Linked DNA regions of Homo sapiens: region 1 is linked to region 2. The links are contacts of gene promoters, found by promoter capture Hi-C in human tissues and cell types (Jung and others, 2019). All regions are on one chromosome and are shown on one strand. Each heading gives the region's core, a stretch centred on a gene start or on the middle of the fragment in contact. The rest is flanking DNA. Distances are from core to core; before and after follow the strand shown. Region 1 overlaps RNF135 (ring finger protein 135). Region 2 holds the start of EVI2A (ecotropic viral integration site 2A).

The links. Contacts are between HindIII fragments. The study calls those that stand out against the background at their distance.
Region 1: a fragment that was not itself captured here is called in contact with the fragment with the promoter of EVI2A in region 2 in 1 of the 25 tissues and cell types used here (lymphoblastoid cells).

What each region holds. Positions count from the first base shown.
Region 1 is chr17:30,993,269-30,998,433 of GRCh38, forward strand. RNF135 (ring finger protein 135) reads left to right here. Exons shown (of 5, transcript NM_032322.4): 4 at 3,974-4,063. Among named protein-coding and RNA genes, the nearest start is that of RNF135, 25 kb to the left of the region's middle. The HindIII fragment of the contact is 7,055 bases long and covers 1-5,149 here.
Region 2 is chr17:31,318,238-31,323,544 of GRCh38, forward strand. It overlaps EVI2A (ecotropic viral integration site 2A), which reads right to left and starts at 3,385. Exons shown (of 2, transcript NM_014210.4): 1 at 3,258-3,385; 2 at 1-786. The coding sequence starts at 776. The coding sequence ends at 66. The region is part of intron 36 of NF1 (neurofibromin 1); the gene reads left to right. RefSeq lists enhancers at 214-263, 474-533. The HindIII fragment of the contact is 10,482 bases long and covers 1,128-5,307 here.

The DNA.
Region 1 (5,165 bases), core at 372-2,871, 330 kb before region 2:
CGGGCTGGTCTTGAACTCCTGACCTCAGGTGATCTGCCTGCCTTTGCCTGCCTTGGCATCCCAAAGTGCTGGGATTACAGGCATGAGCCACAGCACTTGGCCTTATTTATTTTTTAAATAGAGACAGGGATGTCACTTTATTGCCCAGGCTGGTGTTGATCTCCTAGCTTCCAGCAATCCTTGTGCTTTGGCTCCCAAAGTGCTGGGATTACAGGCATGAGCCACCATACCGAGCCCCTAGTGAATTTTAAGTAAGATTTGTGTAGTGCCACTTTAGAGACATATCTCATAGCATTTTCATGTTTAATGATATTGCTCTGCTTAAAATGTTGCTCTTAACTGGAGAACCATGATTCTTTGGAAAAAATTTCCATGGTTAAGTGTAGATTATTTCTCTCATCAATAGAGATAAAAAAAGTATTAGGGAGTGTTAATTTAAAAAAAAAAAGTAAATAACTTCAGTAGGTTTTGCAAATGCTTTTTAAAAAATTTTTTTCCTTTCTTTTTCTTTTGTTTATAATCTGCATTCTGCTGAATTAATTAATTAATTAATTTTTTTATTTTGACACAGGTTCTCTGTTGCCCAGGCTGGAGTGCAGTGGCACAATCACTGCAGCCTCGATCTCTCAGGCTCAGGTGATCTTCCTTCCTAAGACTCCCAAGTAGCTGGGACTACAGGCATGTGCCACCACACTCAGCTAATTTTTTGTACTTTTTGTAGAGATGAGGTTTTGCCATGTTGCCCAGGCTGGTCTCCCACTCTTGGGCTCAAGCGATCCTCCTGCCTCAACCTCCCAAAGTTGTTGGATTACAGGCGTGAGCCACGGTGCCCAGCCAAACATTTTTTAAAAACCTATTAACAATAAGTAATAATCGTATCAGCAAAATAGGAGAACAGTGATATTCATCTGAATTTTGTGTTTTTCTAAATTGTAGTGAAAATACATACAACATAAAATTTACTATCTTAACTATTTTTAAGTAGGCAGCTCAGGCAGGTGCAGTGGCTCATGCCTGTAATCCCAGCACTTTGGGAGGTTGAGGTGGGCAGATCAGTTGAGTCCAGGAGTTCAAGAGCAGCCTGGGTAACATAGTGAGACCCACTTCTCTACCAAAAATACAAAAACTAGCCTGCTATGGTGGCACACACCTGTAGTCCCAGTCCCAGCTACTTGGGAGGCTGAGGTGGGAGGATCACTTGAGCCTGGGAAGCAGAAGTTGCAGTGAGCCGAAATCAGGCCACTGCACTCCAGCCTCGGCAACAACAACAAAAAAAGTAGCAGCTCAGAGCTCAGTACTGTTAAGTATGTTTACATTATCATATAACCAATCTCCAGATCATTTTCTTTTTTGTAACTTTATTTTATTTTATTTTTTTTTTTGAGACAGAGTTTCACTCTTGTTGCCCAGGCTGGAGTGCAATGGCATGATCTCGGCTCACTGCGACCTCTGGCTCCTGGGTTCAAGCGATTCTCCTGCCTCAGCCTCCCAAGTAGCTGGCATTACAAGCATCCACCACCACACCTGGCTAATTTTTTTTATATTTTTAGTAGAGACGAGGGTTTCACCATGTTGGCCAGGCTGGTCTCAAACTCCTGGCCTCAGGTGATCCACCCGTCTCGGCCTCCCAAAGTGCTGGGATTACAGGTGTGAGCCACCACGCCTGGACTGTAACTTTAATTTTAATTTTTTAGGATCAGGTCTTACTTTGTTGCCCAGGCTAGAGTACTGTGGCACAACTATGGCTCACTGTAACCTCAATCCTCCTGCTTCAGCCTCCCCAGTAGCCAGGACTATAGGCCCACACCACCATGCTCAGCTATTTAAAGAATTGTTTTGGCCGGGACAGTGGCTTACGCCTGTAATCATAGCACTTTGGGAGGCCGAGGCGGGTGGATCACTAGGTCAGGAGATCGAGATCATCCTGGCTAACACGGTGAAACCCCGTCTCTACTAAAAATACAAAAAAATTAGCTGGGTGTGGTGGTGGGCGCCTGTAGTCCCAGCTACTCAGGAGGCTGAGGCAGGAGAATGGCGTGAACCCGGGAGGTGGAGCTTGCAGTGAGCTGAGATTGCGCCATCGCACTCCAGCCTGGGCGACAGAGCGAGACTCAGTCTCAAAAAAAAAAAAAGAATTGTTTTGTAGAGACAGGGTCTCATTATGTTGCCCAGGCTGGTCTGGAACTCCTCCTGGCCTCAAGTGAGCCTGCTGCCTCAGCCTCCTAACTAGCTGGGACTATAAGCATGGGCCACCATGCCTGGTTTCATGTTGCAGAATTGAAACTCTATACCCATTAAGCAACAATTCCACATTCCTTCAACCCCCTCCTACCTGGCAACCACTATTCCACTTTCTGTTCTATGAATTTGACTATTCTAGATACCTCATGTGAGTGGAATCATACAGTATTAGTGTGTGAGAGGTTTATTTCACTTAGCATAATGTCCTCCAAGCTCACCTATGTTGTAGCATATATCAGAATTTGTTACTTTTTTTTTTTTTGAGACGGAGTCTTGCTCTGTCACCCAGGCTGGAGTGCAGTGGTGCGATCTTGGCTCACCGCAACCTCTGCCTCCCGGGTTCAAGCAATTCTCCCACCTCTGCCTCCCTAGTAGTAGCTGGGATTACAGGCATGTGCTACCACCCCTGACTAGTTTTGTGTGTGTGTGTGTGTGTGTGTATTTTTTAGTAGAGATGGGGTTTCGCCATGTTGGCCAGGCAGGTCTCGAACTCCTGACCTCAGGTGATCCGCCCGCCTCAGCCTCCCAAAGTATTGGGATTACAGGCGTGAGCCACCACGCCCAGGCAGAATTCATTACTTTTTTTTTTTTTTTTTTTTGAGATGGAGTCTCACTCTGTTTCCCAGGCTGGAGTCAGTGGTGCGATCTCGGCTGACTGCAAACTCCGCCTCCCAGGTTCAAGTGATTCTCCTGCCTCAGCTTCCCAAGTAGCTGGGATTACAGCCATGTGTCACCACACGCAGCTAATTTTTGTATTTTTAGTAGAGATGGGGTTTCACCATATTGGCCAGGCTGGTCTTGAACTCCTGACCTTGTGATCTGCCTGTCTTGGCCTCCCAAAGTGCTGGGATTACAGGTGTGAACCACTGCGCCCAGGCAGTATTCGTTACTTTTTAAGGCTAAATAATATTCCATTGTATGTATATATCACATTTCTTTATCCATTTTTCTGTCTCTGGACACAGGGATTGCTTCAGTTCCGAGTTGAATTTTGAGACTGGCCTCTTTACAGGCAGCTCTCTTGCTCTCATGACCTAAGTTACCACAGGCACACCCTAGACAAGGTCTTTCATCTCTTCTCAGGTGGAGTCTTAGATTCACTGCAGCTGCTGTCACTTCAAGATACAAGTAGGACAAGATTTTGCCTTCAAAGTCTGCACTCTAGGACTTCCCTTACTTATCATCTGCCTGACGTGGTCATTGCACTCTAGCACACATGACTGCTTTAAGTTAATAATTAAACTTTAGCACATCGAGAGGGAATTAGGAGGTGTCAGCAATGGTGATGAATCTCACCCCAACTCATGTTACCCAGTTTATGTAACAACAGTTTAAAACATTGACTTGGGGGTCCTGGATATTCTAGGTGTTAGGGTGCTGCAATCCCCTGGAACTGTATTAGTTGATTTTATTTCATGAGTGTGCATAAAACACCTTCTATCTATGGGACTGGCATGGGGCTTGGTGCTTAGAACATATAGATGAACAAGATCTTTGCTAGCAAGGAGCTGAGAGCTTAGTGAAGAAAGAGTGAAAAGTCCACAGTGAGAACATGGAGGTGCACATACCTGGGCTGCAGGCACACTGCCTCTGCCTGATCCAGTCCTGACACTGAAAAATGTGTAGATGATAAGAAGACAAGCCAGCCATGTGCCTTGACCATGATGTTTGGAGACCTTCAGTTTGCCTTTTTCTGATGGGACTTTCCTCTGTTAATTTTTTTGTTACTTAGGAGAACTCCTGGAAGCCCCGTCTTCCTCCTCATGCCCATTGCCTGACCAGAGCCACCCTGCACTCAGGAGAGCTTCTCGGTTTGCTCAGTGTAAGTATGTGGTCCACTTTAAACATGGGTTTGGCTTGCCGCAGAGCGGGCTTCGAGAATATCCTACATCCATCTCCCTACTGCTAGGGCCACTCCTTGGCTTACTGCACATGGATTTGTTCCAGGTCCCTCCACGGGGGGAGCTGATTGCAAAGGCAAAGCAGGTTGAGACTCTAGACCCAAGAGCACTCAGAGTCCCGCCAACCTTTGAGCATCTCTGCTGTGGCCACCAACTACAGCCAACTGCCTGTTCCCAAACCTGCTGAGGTATTTCTGCATCTGTGCTGTGGCCACCAACTATAGCCAACTGCCTCTTCCTAAACCTGCTGAGGTATTTCTGCCATCTCAGTCTGGGATAGTCCTTAAGAGCATGGATCCCAGAGCCAGACTGCTTGGGTTTGACTCCCAGCAGCTCCACTAACTAGCTGTGTGATCTTGGGCAAGTCACTTAAGCTTCCTAGAGCCTGGGTTTCCTCATCTGTAAAATGGAGATAATATAGTACTTCTCTTGCGGGATTGCCATGAGGGTTAAGTGAGTGAGTATGAGTAAAACACCTAGAGTAGTCATGCTGTATAAGTGTTAGCAATTTATTCACTCAATAGGAAACCAAATGAAATATACAAAGTGAGTAAGACATGGTCCTCAATCAGGAAGTTTCAGTTTAACTGGGAAGGTATAAACAGCTGTGGTCATAAATCACCATAAGACGGGCGTGAGCCACCGCACCTTGCCTACGCCCAGCTAATTTTGGTATGTTTAATAGAGACAGGAGTTGGCCATGATGGCCAGGCTGGTCTTGACCTCCTGGCCTCAAGTGTTCCACCTGCCTCAGCCTCCCAAAGTGCTGGGATTACAGGGGTAAGCCAGTGCACCTGGCTGAAGGAGCTGGCCTGATTTTTAAAATTGACATATAATAATTGTATAGTCTGGGTGCAGTGGCTCATGCCTGTAATTGCAGCACTTTGGGAGGCTGAGATGGCAGGATTGCTGGAGCTCAGGAGTTCGACACCAGCCTAGGAAGCATGGCAAAATCCTGCTTCTTTTCTAAATAAATTTTAAAAATAAATAAATATAATAAGTGTACATATTTATGGGATACAT
Region 2 (5,307 bases), core at 2,135-4,634:
TAAATACCAACTGACTTCATTTTTACTCCATAAGCCTTCTCATTGCTACTTTGCATTTTTCTTCACTAACCTATCTGTTTGTTAGTAAGTTTTTCAGTTCCTTCTTCATCTTTTCTTTCCCTTGTAGCTGTGAGCACTCCAGTAGATTGCATCACTAGGTTGGGTCCTGTGAGCTGTTTTGTTCTTTTCCAAGTGTCTGATTCAGCGGGCCATAGACCGCTTGCCAGAAAATCGCCATTGCTTCTAGGCTGACGCTTGCCTACTTGTTTTGATCGTCTGAGAGAAGAGACTTTGTTTGCCAAAACCACAGTTGATAGAAATAGAAAGGTACAGATAAGAAAAAGCACTGCAATTATAATTAAGCAAATTAGCATAGCCATGTTGTTGTTGTTTTCCGCACAGACATCCTTTTTGAAAATTTCACCATGACTTTTGCTTGTGTTTTCAATGCTCTGTACTGTTGAAGGACTGTTGCTGACGACAGAAGGTATATAAAGCTCCTGTTCAGATTTAGAAGTTAAAGCTACGATGTGAGATGTTTCAGGCATGTTTGTAGAATTACCTTTATAATCTACTTCAGGAGTTATAGGGTTTGTGTTAATGTTTTCATTTTGGTTTCTGCCTGTCTTGTTTTGAATAACTGAATCCCAGGAAGAAGTACTGTTAGCCCACAGACGGGTATAGTTTGCTTTTGTTCCAGGAGACAAAGAAAAAACTGTTGTCATCAGAAAGGCAAGATGTAGGTAATGTCCTGTGTGTTCCATGTCCGTGGGCATGCTTGGCAATCTGTTGGGATAGCAATATAATTTGTTAGTTTGTGAAAGAATAATGGATCCTAGTTTTGGTAATTGTAGTTAAAAGATAGTGTTGAGATGTTACAAGTAAACTACAAGCTTATGCCTAATATTCGCTACCCTGAATTCCTTCTCAACTAAATTTCTTTTCTATTCAGCTATGTATGAAGAAGCATTTTAATTTCTATTAACACTTTTAGATGCTAGAAGTTAGCATTACAAATAAATATTAATCATTTTAAGTGGACTATCATGGCTTTATATAGTTTTCTTCCTTTGAAGCGTGCTAGACTTCTGCTTTGAGTCAGTTAGTTCTGCTTTTACTTTTCTGATTCCTTCTTTAAAAAAAAAAAAAAATTAAGGATCATTCTTACAGAAACTACCCACCCTCTAACCTGTCACCAATCTTTACAGAAGAAATGTGGCCTTGAGCTTCTTGCTTCATGTATGAAATAAATGCAAATTTTTTTGGTGGAAAGAGGGGAAGTTTGGTAGCAACCAAAAGAAACTGAACTTCAAATAGAAATTCAAGGTGTTCTTTTTTTTTCTTGGGTGTTCATCTTGAAGCTTAGAATAAAGCTGGTACTTAGAAATACATTTGTAAGTGTATTTGTGAACGCAATTTTACTGTGGTGGTTGTCTCTTTTCATTTATATTTCCCTGGACTGACTGTGTCTTTCTGAAGGCAAAGGCATACCAGTTTTCTCAACCTAAAAATCTGAAGAAAAAAAAAAAAAAACAGCAAATTTCCTCTGAGTAGACTTAAAAGTTCAACAAAAGTTGCTGGGTTTTCTTTTAAAGCATCATTTATACCTAGCATTTTTTCTGATTTTGACATAATTGTAAAAAAAAATGTGTAATAAAATAGAAATAGAGCATCAGGATCTTGATGATTTGGGATGAAGTGGCAGGTTATAAGCATCTCAACAGATAATTGAAAATGTTGAATTTCCGCTTTGGCCCTGAGCTTGCTGGAAACTAGTACAAAAAGGAGACAAGTTATATTATACATTTTTTAAATCTACCAAATGATTGATTTAAATAGAAATGGCATATCTTAGAATTTAACAGTTCCATGTACTGCTAACCCAGCAGGAAAGATTTATAATCATTATTAAGGTATCTTATAATAATATACCAGTTTGTCTTGAGCTACTTTTGAAAGGAGTATTTTATTGTTAGCATTTATTTGAATGAACTAAAAGCAAAACTATATTGTTCTCCTGAGATTTACTAAATGAAATTGCCTGGTTAAGAACCCTACGTATGCTATAGAAATTCTTCTCAAATGTACTTAGGAGTCCTTTTATTTAAAAAAAAAAAAAAAAGGCAGATTCTTACCTAGCTAGTATAGGTAGGGCCTGAAAGTCTTTGTTTCCAAACCAACTCCTAAGCAACATGGATGCCACTGCTAGTCAGGCTTTTGAACATCAAGGTTTTATAAGAAATGGTTGTTATATGTCATTGGCTGACATTTGTATACTATTAAAATACAGAAATTGAAAATAAGAAATGTGATACGTTGAGTTATGCAAACAAAAGTAGCATGTAATAAACAATGCTAACTGGAGACTATATTTCATATTAATAGTAGGGAGGAAAAACTATTAAATATTCCAGGATTAAGATTACTTTTTAGATTATGACCTTTAGTAGACAATTAAAGGCCCAAGTCACTGGCTTTTGTATAATAGTGTTCAGCTTTAATTTTTAAGTTTAGTGACATAAATCTTTGGATATTTCATGATTCTTCCACAAAAAGAAATACTTGAAATTGGATTAGCAAGTAATTTCCATCTTTTTATACTAGACTGGACTTCTGTATTAGATGCTAGAATGATTTAAAGTAGATTATTCTTTTCACATTAGTTCATTAACAGTGTAGTATACATCATAGTATTGGTACACATTTTAACAGTGCTTACCACGGAACAGATAATAGGCCTGCTGTTGATTGTCTTCAGCCAGATGTACTGCAGTGCCCAAATAAACAAACTGTATGACAAAATGAGACTTTCTCTTGCCCTTACAAATGCCTGAGAATTGAGGACTGTTTTTACTCCAGTTTATGCCTTGGAGGCCAGGTTGTGTTATCAGAAGTTTTCTTATATCTGATCATTTTCAGTAGAATTTATTTTCAGTAGAATTTGTAATGTCCAAGCATTAGTAATGAGAAATTTATTTTTTAACTTTTGAAAAATAACAAAACATTTCCAGTTTACTTGAGGAAACCAAACTTAGATCCTTCGTAATCCTAATTTAAAACTCCATGGCGATGGCAAATTTTTTCATTTCTAACTTAAAATTTATGTAACAGGACAGAAAAAAAAAGTATACATTTTCAGTCACAATTCTAGTTTGTTAGTGAGATTCTTACACACTTTGATAGCATTTCCTCGAACACTAATCTGTCAGACGTTAGAAGTGAAAAGGCATAAGAAAAGCCGTATATATATGACCTACCTTACAAAATGCTTGGTCAAAATCTGATTATAACGTGATTTTGATAAACCACTTCTTTTCTTGTCTTCTTTTTAAAGCAGAATAGACTTGGAGAATATGAGCCTTAAAGTAAATCTGCAGTAAAAAAGGATATGTGCAGCTAGTTTTCCACTTTTAAAACCAAACCACAGATGACACATTTCCTTTCCACTGCAACTAAAGCACATGTCACAGGAGGGAAAAAAAAAAAAACAACGAAAAAGCTCCAACTTCTCTAGTTGGCCACTGGCATGACAGGAGGCTTTGTAGAACCAATCCCCGCCTCCAGAGCAGGGAGGGTTTTCCACTTAATGCCTTTTGACAGTATGCTCATTCTATAGGCCTGCTACATGCTTTAGTGTCATTCAAAAGAGGTTTTGAAATGGTATCTTCCATTTCAAATCTTCTCTAAAAGACTTATTTGAAATCTACAGACTGATTTGAAAATGTGAGTTTGGAGTCCATGGGATACTGATCAGATAATGTAACAATTGTGGAACTGCAGCAATTATTTGAGAAAATATCTAGTAAACTTAGATTATATGGGACAGAAAATGCTTTCGTGTGGTGTAGTGTGTGTATACACACACACACACACACACACACACACACACACAACTGTCAAACATCCTGTCATCACCTCAAGTTTAACATGACTGAAACAGACTTTAAGAACTAGGTATGGGCTGAACACGGTGGCTCACACCTGTAATCCCAGCACGTTGGGAGGGTTGACGCAGGCAGATCACTTGAGGCCAGGAGTTCAAGACCAGCCTGGCCAACATAGAGAAAACCTGTCTCTACTAAAAATATAAAAATTAACCAGGCAGGGTAGCATGCACCTGTAGTCCCACCTACTTGGGAGGCTGAGACAGGAGAATAGCTTGAACCCGGGACGTGGAGGCTGCAGAGATCATGAGATCTTGGCTGCATGAGCTAAGATCATGCCACTGCACTCCAGCCAGGAAGACAGAGTAAGACTCTGTCTCAAAAAAAAAAAAAAAAAAAAAAAAAAAAAAAAAAAGAACTGGATATGGCAGCACATATCTGTAATCCCAGCTACTAGGTAGGTTGAGGTAGGAGGATCACTGGTGGAGCCCAGGAGTTCAAATCCAGCCTGGGTAACATAGCAAGACTCCATCTCTTAAAAATTAATTAAATTAATGAAATAAAAAGAACTTTATTTTTTCTTTAAAGGAGGCTGCCTGTGACAGTCTTCTTGTTTCTGTTCATGATAGCAACATTCTAATATCAGAGGCTTAGTATACAACACATCATTTTAATTTAAGTCCTCTCAGTCCTGATCAGACTTTGAATCATGTTGGTCCTTCCTTCATATTGTTGGATCAGTTTCTTTTTCCCTGTTTTTACTGTCAACAGTACTATTTTAGATCCTTATCAGGTCATACCTAGACTCTACAGTGCCTTTTCGGTAGCCCTGAATCCTTCTTATATCTTGTATACATCACTGTCTTTGGTCATACCACCCTTTCTTTAAGGGAAAATAAAACCGGTTGAACAGTTCCCTAATACATACAACAATGATTCAGAAATGTTTGTGTACATAAACATCAGATGAGAAGATTGTTTAAAAATTATAAAAGCAGGACATGGTGGCTCACACCTGTAATCTCAGCACTTTGGGAGGCTGAGGCGGGAGGATTACTTGAGCCACAGAAATTCGAGACCAGCCTGGGCAGCATGGCAAAATCCTGTCTCTACAAAAAATACAAAAAAACAAAAACAAAAAACTAGCCGGGCATGGTGGCGCTTATCTGTAGTCCCAGCTACTCAGGAGGCTGAGGTGGGAGGATCACCTGAGCCTGGGGAGGTCAAGGCTACAGTGAGCTGTGACCGTGCCACTGCAGTCCAGCCTGAGTTAAGGGAAAAAAAAAAAAGATAAAAATTTCCAGGCCCCACTACATAGATCCATATTTAGTAGGTCCAGGTTGGGACCAGGAAACTGCATTTTTATCAAGCACCACAGTTGATTCTGACGCCAGTAGTCCACAGAACATATGCTGAGAAATGG